2 separate regions of the Homo sapiens genome follow, and region 1 is linked to region 2. The links are contacts of gene promoters, found by promoter capture Hi-C in blood cells and fetal thymus (Javierre and others, 2016). All regions are on one chromosome and are shown on one strand. The core of a region is centred on a gene start or on the middle of the fragment in contact, and the rest is flanking DNA. Distances in the headings are between cores, read along the strand shown.

Region 1 (5,315 bases), core at 132-2,631, 110 kb after region 2:
TACTAGAACAAAAAAGCTTGAAGGTGTGGGGGTGGAGGGTATGGAAGACCAAAAGTAAATTTAAAAAAGAAATTTTTGAAAGGAAACAGCTTTATCAGGGGAAGTTAAATATAACACTCCGTTTTTTTCTTCTTTCTAATAATGATATGGATCAACAAATGCAATTTGAACTTTTTAAGATAACTCTAAATGTGTTTTGTTTCTTAAATGCACAATTGATTCTTCTATACTGTAATGCTTCTTTGCTGACGCTGGAAAATGGTCAGACTGCTGACTTTGTGCCTTTAAAATGCATTCTGCTTTGACAGTGGCAGACTTTTTGGTGCTGGAGAAGATTCACTAGCAGTCTTATATGTGCTTTTCAGGAAATATCTTTCTACTTAAGGCCTTGAGAGATTCAAAGTGGCATGACTTAGGCTTGGACCAAATATAAGATCTTTTACATTGCAAACAAAATGTTGTATTGAATAAAAGGGTTAAAAAAATCATAATGACTAGTGGAAATTTTGATGGGTTGTTAATTATTTAAAATGTATTTGAAAGTATACAGACTGAAAATTTCAGTATGAATATCTTGAAAATTTTCAGCACTTTTCCTTGTTTACAAAACATCTTTCTAACTTAAAAAAATGACTATTGCCTTAGAAAGTTTTAAAAGGCACAGTTACCCTTACATAACATATATAAGGAATTAAAATATTAATGCATTTGCTGAACTGTAAAAGAAAATTTTAAACCTTGATTTCAGAGTGAATTGGATTGGCTTTCACTTGAGAGAGTCTTTACCTTATTCCCAAAGAAACTGCATTAAAAAGATGAAACTATTTCTTTAGACTAAGTCTCTGCTACTCCAGCTCATATATATGTCAGATCTGCTCTGTAGTATTTCTGACATGGAGTTGTTATAAGATATGTGAAATCACTTAGAAAATAAAATCAGATGTGAATAGTTTAGCAGGATGACCAAGCCAGATGCAGACTCCTTGGCCTATGGCAAAGTTCTGTGCCAGTGATTTTATTTGGAGTCTGGGAACTGATAGCTTGATATAAAATCACCTGGTGTCAATTAAATATACAAATCTATCTTTTTTAATAGAATGAATCTTCTTTGTTTGTTCAATAATTGTAACTTATTATGTCAGGTACTAAATTAACATCCTTAAGGAGGTCACAATCTAGGAGGAACATGGGCAAACAGTTACTTATTTTATGGCATACGCTAACTCTGAAAGTTCAGCAATGATGTTTTAAAATGTTATTTTTTATTAAGGGAAAAGCAATTTTAGGTAATCATTGGCTGTTATAAACGGAAATGTCACTGACAACAGGGATTAGAGTAAAAGTATCTCCAAACTAGAGGGATCCCCTCCCCAACCAGGTCACATAGCATCTCTCTCAGGACCCCCTCTTACTGCAAAACCCAGCCTCTACTCAACAGTTCTGGTGATGGGGAGCATTTATTCCATAACAGTGTTTTTTTGTTCTTTTTTTTTTTTTTCCCCAGTGTCTCTTTTAAAGAAAACATACTTTATTTTGGTCTAAATTGTGAAAATACCCAAAACATTTGATAGAAATTGAACTCTGTCAACAGTGTTATTTATACTAAGATCAGGACAGTTCCTTGAGATCATACTGTTTTATTACTAAGTTTGGCCTTTGTTTTACAAATGTAATGTTCATATTTATTTGAATTTTAAGATTGGTTAAATGTTAATGAAAAGCAATCCAATTGTTAATTTTTAGTAGTGCCTTTTCTCTGTATGCCTTAATTTTATTTTATATTAATAATTCAAGTTACCCACCAAAATGAAGATTTTTTCCAAAATCAGTAGGCTTCACAAGTTCATTTGGCCTTAGACTGTGTATTGGTCCTTAAATGTTTCTTAATGCCTGCCTCCTCCTACCCTTTTCTACCTCCTTTTTAAAAAAATAAATAAATAAATAAATAAATGTTAGGAGAGAAACATTAGGATTTGTCTGTGATAGACATGCTGCAGCTTCCACTAGACATGAATTCCCAACACAAGCATAGAAAGAGGTATTCTCGTTCTAAAGAGACATGTAAATGTTTTCTGGGTTGAATATTTGATTTTCAATCACATTGGCACTGTCCAAGTTCTTGGCATATTATAGTTCAGTTATGATTTTCATGGTAGAGTTACAATACTTGTTTTTGCCCTAAAGAAGTCATTCACATGGTTTACAAATGTTAAGGCAATGAGATAGGACAGTGAGTAGGAAATCCAGGGATAGCAGATTCTAGTCCTTAATTCTCAGCTAACATTTTGGGTAATACTCACAGAAAAGTTACTTTTCTGTGAAGTGTGTGCATGTGTGCATGTATGTGTGCGTTTGCATGCATGTGTGTGTGTGTGTGTGTGTGGTTAGAGTTGGAGGCAGGGATGGGAAGGAAGAAGGGGAAAGGTATGAGTGTTCAATTAGGTCAGTTTCTGGTTTTGGAAGAACAACTCAAATGTATGACCTACTGATGACATACAGTGAGTGTAGTCATCCTTGGGTAGGAACACCAGTACATTTTCCAGAAGTAGCTAGTACAAATGATTGTATAATAATATTGATTGTAAATTGCCATACTCTTGGTTGCTAAAGGTAGATTAAAATTCAATTTGTGTATATGTAAAATAATCTTATATATAATTCTTAAATAGAAAGTAATTGATTTTACATAGTTCTTCCTGAACTTTTTGGAACTGAAATTCTGCCAAACATTATCAAAATAAGCTTCCTTAGCTTACCAAGTATTCACAAGGAAATTCTCTTGTACCTCTTTTTGGTTGGCTAGGGGAAGCATGCTGTGAAGCAGCTATTCCTACTTATAGTTGTCTTTGGCTTGGCTTTGACTTCTGCCATGGTTTGGACAGGATGCCATGGTAGGTGTGGGAAGTATCAGGGCCTCCCATCTTCCCATACTCACCTTCCAGAGCTGTTGATGGAAATGAGCTCTTGGGGGAGCCTAGAGATTCTTTTTTCAGTGGTCCTGTAAGCATTCAAGGTTGAGCTTCAGAAAGATGAGGGAGGAGTCATAGCTACAGTAAAGAAAAGAATAGATTTTATCTGTTGCCTGTATACAGTCTCATAGAATTCTTATTTTTCATAATTGTGCATTTTAATTGATAGTCATATGGTATTTTTGTTAATAACAGCAAAGGCATTAAATCAGTACCATTGTTCCTTCTGCCTGATGACTTCTTGTTTGTAACACAATCTGTATTATCAGAATCACTTTAAACCAAAGCTTTTATATTCCCTGTACACATAGCCAAAATAATTAGCACTGTTACTTCTGTCCACTTGTAAGCTAATAGTATAAAAATTATAAAGCAGATACTAGTAGAATTTGTATTCTGGTATATCCTTCAAGGAAAAGGACAGGTGATCAGTGCATTTAGACATCCAGAAGTTACTTCCACTATTGAGGAACTATGTAGACATGAATTTAAGCTTGTACATGTGCCAATCTTGTTAATGTCACTTGACCACTGATTCACATAGACAGACATTAACGTCTGATGCCTCAGGTTGATGGCGAACTTTCTTCCTAGTGTCTTAACATTTATGAACTTATGTTTGACTTGAGGGGCATTTCAGCAAAGCTGTGAGGAAAAGTAGGTTCTGGACTGATGTCTGCTTTGTGCCATAGACATTTTGGAACATAAGGAAGTATCTGCTTCTACTATATGTACAGGACTTGTCCCCAAATAATTTCTGAATCCCTTAATGCAGTTGAGAATCCCTTAATGCAGTTGAGAACAGTAAAGTTCATGACCATACCGAAAAGCACTTTTAAGTTCACTTCTTTTTAAATATTTTTTTAGAATTTATTTTTTAAAAGCATATGTAACTAGTGATGATTTTAGCATTAGCTTTACTTGGAGGGGAGAAGAAACAAAATTACACCTTAAACTCTATTAGATAGACTACAAAATGGATTTGATGTATTCTTACTTTTCCAAAGAATTTTTTCCACCTGGAATAAGAAGAGAGGACTAGTTGAAACATTTGAGCTGGAGAGGCTTATGGGCAATATGAAGTGGGCCAAATTCTTGCAATACACCCTATTCAATTGAAAGTACAGTGTCTAAGGATAAGAATACTTCTTTAAAGACCAACAATTGTTTTAATGCAATCTTAATTAGTAAATGGTTTACATTTTTTCTATTGTTATTGGTTTTAAAATTTGCTACCCTGAATTCTGAAATATTATAAGAGTTAATACCAAAAATACTTTTAATGTCTGACATCTCTTACATTTCACATGGTTCTTTTTATTCATTGTAAATAAAAGTAAACTTGGATAAATTTGAGAATAAACTTTGAATTGTTGCAAACTATGATTATCAATTTGTAAATTTACCCTTTGACATAATAATGTACATTTTTAAATGTAGCCATTAAATTCTCTATATTTAACCTATTGGTTTCTCTCTAAATGTTTTTAATCTCAGTTGAATGCTGGGCAGTTTATAATTATGTACAAAGGGTTTTTTTCCTATTAAGATTGACATTTTTGCACATTTTTGGAAATGTTTAATTTGTACACTGATTTACTACTCTGACCAATAATTGTTGATGAGTGTATGAGCATCATGAATGCGTGCATTGAACTACTGTCTGTGTCTTTATGTTTTAACTTCTTTCAAGATGTAGCCATCAGTTACTGCACTGCTATTACTGACTTAAATGGACCTTTTTGCTTTTACAAACTATACTTATCTATGGTTCTTTGTTGAAGAACTCAGGAGTTCGACATTAATAGAAATTAGAAAATTTTATAATGTATTATAAAATCCATTACTAAGTTGAAAGTATGCTTTTAACTGTGTATCAGGGGATGTATGTTTGTGTGGAGATGTTTTTTTCTGTCTGTAGGCACATGTATATATCCCAGTAAGTTCTTATTTTCATTTCATTTCTACATTTTTATGAACTTGTTTTATAAGGGTACTGTTTAGTTGTGATAATTAAATATATATAAAAGCTTTCTGAGAGATTATTTACTATATGAATATATTTTCAGCTGGCTGATCAAAAGTATTTTTAAAATTTTGTTTTTAGCCATTCAAAATGTATTTGTATTTTCAGAATTGAATGCAAGTCATACTTAGAGCTCAATTAAAATACTCTTGCAAGAAAAAGCATTAAATTCTCTTTGAGAATTCCGTGAAATGCAAATTAAGGGAAAAATAGGTTTTAAGCAGTAGCAAAAACACACCGCTAAAAATGGCCTTTGAATTCTCAGAGCTATGGAAAAATGTGAGAAACTAAATTGTCTCGAGATGTCAAGATTTTTCTAT
Region 2 (4,792 bases), core at 87-2,586:
GGCCTCGGCTGCCCGCTCTACGTGGGGCTGAGCTCACACTGCCTGCCTAGAAAGCAGCTCCAGAATGCAGTGGAGAGGGTGCCAGGATGTTTGTGTCCTCCCTGGGGACAGTGGGGTGGCTGCCTCTGCCGGTCTGATGACTGGGCTGAGAATATTAGCTAACGTTGATTGGACACTCATGGTGTCTTTCAAACAATTTTTACAGGATTCACAGGGCAGGCCATGAAGCCAGACTGCACGGTGCAAATTCCAGCTCCAGCACTTACTGGAGGGCAATGTTGGGCAAGATGCTTAACTGCTCCATGCCTCAGTTTCCTCATTTGTAAAATGGATGGAATAACGTGGTGTATCTGTGCCTTAAAGGGTGTTGTGAGAATTAAAGGAGTTAGTCCACATAAAGCTCTCAAAACAGGCTTTGCACATAGCTCATGCTCAGTAAACATGAGATATTATGACTTCAGTTAAGGCTCACAACCACCCAAGAGGTAGTTATTAATGCTGTCAACCCCATTTCATAGAGGGGGAAACTGAGACTCGGAGGAGTTAAGTGGTTTATTAAAAATCCAACCCTTGCTGGTCTCCGTTGATTGCACAGGGAAGTCACCAACCCAGGGGATCGATCAGATTCTGTCCCCCATCCTCCAGGAGTAGGGTCTCACACCATCAGTACACTGCAGGCACCAGACTCGGAAGACTGAGGCAAGGTCCTGGGTCTCCATGTTTACATCCATGCATTACTCGCAGAGCCAGGACTCAAGGCCAGGCCTGTGTGGTTTTAGGCCTGGAAATTCAACCCCTGCCCCAAACCACCAGGTGCTCCAAAAGGCCACAGAGATAGCCCTGGTGGCCAGAGATCAAGGAACCCTCCCCAGTGGATAGGCCACGTGGCCCTCTGCACACCCTACCGGACCCTGCTCTCCATTCTTGCCGACTCCCTCTGAGGCCACTTCTGAGATTTGTTCAAATCCGACACCCCCAAAGGTGGAAGTGGGGTGGGGAGAATGGAGGGTCCTGGGCTCCAAACTGTCTGTTGGAATGGCCCTGGGCCCTGGGGACCCTTGGCCTGGAAAGAGGGAGGCGCATGGCAAAGGGACCTGAGACTGTGGCTGCCAGGCCTGGCCTGTGGAGGGCCTTGTGTCCTTTCACCCCAAGCTCAGGCTTGTTGAGCACCCTGGCTGGAGGATTCAGCCCTCATCACCACCTAGCTCTCTTCTCCCGGGGGCAGCCCTCCCTCCACACCCCTCATAGACCTGCCTGGAGGGGGACTCACAGGGGCGGGTCGTGGAGATACTGCAAGTTCGCCGTCCTGCCGCCATGACAGCCTGGAGTTCGAGTTAATCCATAACCACAAATATTTGCTTGGCCCTCAGCACTGAGGCCTCCCTCTCCATAGACAAACAGTGGCACTAGCACTCCTGGTCCTAGCTCAGCACGGCTTGTTCTGCCCGAAGCCCACCTCTGCCCACCAAGGATGCCGTCCAGCAGGGAGGGAGGTGAGGGCAAAACCCTTGACAGATGTGGTCTCATTTTAGCCCCATAGTGGCTGGCTGAGGGAGGAACGTTGTCCCTGTTTTTCAGATGGGGACATTTTTGCCCAGAGATATTATAGTTTGCCCAAGATCAGCACAACAGGTAATATTCCATATTTCGTCAAATCTAAAATACCATTAATTATAAGACACATGTATTTATGTGCCACCATACAAGAAAAAAGACGCTGTCCCAATGACATGCCATCCCAATTTCTGATACATAAAATCATGAGAAGATGCTCCTTTTTGGGTCCCCAGTGCATAGGTGCTGGGCACTGGGCTCCACCCTCACCTCCAATTGCTCACAAATCACCCCCAATCCCCACCCCCAACACACACACACAATGGCACATAGCATCCCTCTAACCTCTATTTTTCAGGTAAGGACACTCAAGTTTTGTGTTACTCGCCCAGATTCACTGAGCTGGTAGTTGGCAGATTTAATTTGAACTCAGGTCTTGCTGCTTCCATTTGGCCCCTTTTGTGGACCAGTAAGAAAAATGAACGGGATTCCAGAAAGGCTGCAGCAATTTCCTGGCCGGGGTGCCAGAAGGGAGAAGGGCAGAAATAAAGGGTCCAGCTCAGCACCTTTGCCTGTGTCCTGCAGTCTATCAGCATTTATTAAGCGTCTTCCTGCTCCGAACCGGGCTGCACCAGAGATGCCCCCCTTTCCTCCCTGCCCTACCTGTTCCTGGGAAGACTTGCCCACGTTCCTTCTCCAAGTCTGCACCTCTAAACGGGGCATGTGACCCTGCCTCGCTGGCTTCCATTGATTGCACAGGGAAGTCACCAACCCAGGGGATTGATCAGAGGAGTAGGGTCTCACACTGTCAGTACACCATAAGTACCAGACTCGGAAGATTGAGGCCAGGTCCTGGGCATCCATGTTTACGCTTAAAGCAGAGGAAGCTGATGAGAAGGAAGATGCAGGTGTGCAGAGGGGGACTGAGGCCACGGACACCTAGAGAGTCCCAGGGAGCAGCGGAAGGAGGCCCCTGCCTCCTTATGATTGGTGGCACATCCTGGCTTCGGGTGCAGGAGGGTCCCCATGCCCTCCTAAAACCCTATTCCTCCTGAAGTTTCTTTAAATTGGCTGGAACAGCTTGTGTTGATTGTAACCAGATGCCTCCTGCTGAGGCACCACACCATGCTGGGCTGTGGTGGTACCAGGCCCTCCTAGAGGAACAGGGTAAAACTCTAACACTCTAACAAGTCAGGCCCACCTTGCCCAGGGGCAGGTACACATAGGAAATGCTTACAGAATTCAGAGGAGAGGGCAATCAGTACAAGCTGGCATAGCCAGGGGAGGCTGCCTGTAGGAGGTGACACTTCAGCTGGACATCAAAGAGCAGACAGGAGGAAAGACATCCCCCCCAACCCCACCCCAGGTTGGGAGACAGTGGGGAGACACAGAACACAAGCAGTCAGGAGGTGCTAGGAGGGGTGGAGGTGGAGAGGAGGTGGAGGGTGAGGCAATGGATTTTGAAATCGAGACTATGAGAAGTGGAGAACCAGGAGCTGTTTGTGACAGGCTGTGGCAGCTGCCTAGAAAAGCAGAGACAAGCTTCTGGGAACTCAGACAGGAAGCATGAAGACCCCATGCACAACCACAGAAGGCACCAGCTTGTATGTCCCTGTTTGCTTCAGGCGTCGCCCCCGCAAGTCTGCAGAGATCACTGCCCTCTGCTTTGCCTTCCAGGTGCAAGATGTTGTGGGTATTCTTTTGGCGCCGCTTCCCTTCCCCACCAACTTCTCGCCCTCTACTCCTCCCCACCCCAGCACAGGCAGCCGCTCCAGGGCAAGTCTATGCAGGCTCCACACACTGATTCTGACCTGCATAAATGGACTCTGCCCGGGGCACCCATGTCCAAACCAGCCCAGGTGCCCAAAGCACCGGCACCGGTACGAGCCAGGGCGGCTGCAATGCTCCCAAGTGCCCAGTGCTGGGGGTTGGGGGTGCCACGGCTTGGCAGGCTGCCCAGAGGGCGGAAGGGTCCTCTGCAGAGCTCTGCACGCCTGTCGGCCGACGGGGACTCTGCACGGCGGGCTGCGTCACGGCCGCCTCATCGGCTGGCAGCGCAGGAAACCCCGTCACCTTCTCGAGGTAGGGACAGTCCTGCCGCCAGCCGTTCCTGCGATCCCAGGGTCTCTGCAGTTACACCTGGTTCCAGCCGGGGGCGCCGCGCCGCACCGCTCCTGCGGAGGAGCCAGGCGCCCTTCACAGGCGCGGCCTCACCCGCTTTACTTGTCAGGTGTGAGTCGCCCCACGTGCACCCGAACGCGGTCAGGTCCACCCAGGAAGCCGGAGCAGGACTTTGGGCAGCGAGCTCGCTGTGAGTTAGAGAGCAGAGGGACACCTGTGGCTAAGGAATTCGCTGCATGGATGAAGACCCAAGCAAAGGAGCTAGAACCAAATGTGTGTGGGGCAAGGCCAGCCACAACTACCGGAGCAGGCGGGGTTCCAAAGCCCTCAGCTCTGGAGTCACGTTCCCACGGCCTTAAACCTCCGCTAGCCTTTTTCTGACAGGGGGATTTAACTTCCCTGTGTCTCAATGTCCACATTTGTAAAATGGGGTCAGCGTCCGTCTCAGGTGACTGTTATAAGGGTCACGTTAAATCTTTTATTAATTTTTTAATTAAAAAAGTTTTGAAACAGGGTCTCTCTGGCTCTGTCACCCAGGCTGGAGTGCAGTGGCGGGATCACAGCTCTCTGCGGCCTAGATCTCCTGGGCTCAAGCGATTCTTCTGTTTCAGCCACCTCAGTAGCTGGGATCACAGGCCCGTGCCACCACGCCCAGCTGATTTTTAAAAATTTTTAGGAGAGAGGAGGTCTTGCTGTGTTGCTCTAGAACTCCTGACCTCAAGTGATCCTCCCTCCTCAGCCTGCCAAAGTGCTGAGATTACAGGCGGGAGCCACTGTGCCTGGCCTTATTTTTAAGTATTTTATACAAAGTGGACATGGCCTGGGACTTAACAGGACTTCCCACAGGCCTGGGAAGGTCAGGGAGGGGCCGACTAGGAGGGGAAGGGGTCAAGGACAGCTGCTGCTGTGTGGAAGCTCAGACTGCACAGATCCGTTGTACAGATTAGGGCTGATCATTCAGTCAGCCCTAACCTGTACAACACTCCCCACCCCTTGCGTTTTGGCCCTGGCTCTGCCAATAGATGCCAGAAACCCAACTTGAGCTCACTCTGCTGAACAGTGATGAGAGATGGGCTGGTGGTCAGGGCTGACGGGACTAAGGTTCCTTCTCACCCCA

Evidence for each region. The method cuts DNA at HindIII sites, captures the fragments that hold promoters and counts their contacts. A CHiCAGO score of 5 or more calls a contact.
Region 1: a contact is called between a fragment that was not itself captured here and the fragment with the promoter of PROC in region 2, in 1 of 17 cell types (neutrophils). The highest score is 6.5, in neutrophils.

What each region holds. Positions count from the first base shown.
Region 1 is chr2:127,299,510-127,304,824 of GRCh38, reverse strand. It overlaps MAP3K2 (mitogen-activated protein kinase kinase kinase 2), which reads left to right. Exons shown (of 17, transcript NM_001371910.2): 17 at 1-5,315. Among named protein-coding and RNA genes, the nearest start is that of ERCC3, 8.0 kb to the right of the region's middle. The HindIII fragment of the contact is 2,726 bases long and covers 19-2,744 here.
Region 2 is chr2:127,414,971-127,419,762 of GRCh38, reverse strand. PROC (protein C, inactivator of coagulation factors Va and VIIIa) reads right to left here and starts at 1,336. Exons shown (of 9, transcript NM_000312.4): 1 at 1,271-1,336. RefSeq lists enhancers at 3,173-3,232, 3,613-4,375. The HindIII fragment of the contact is 16,432 bases long and covers 1-3,098 here.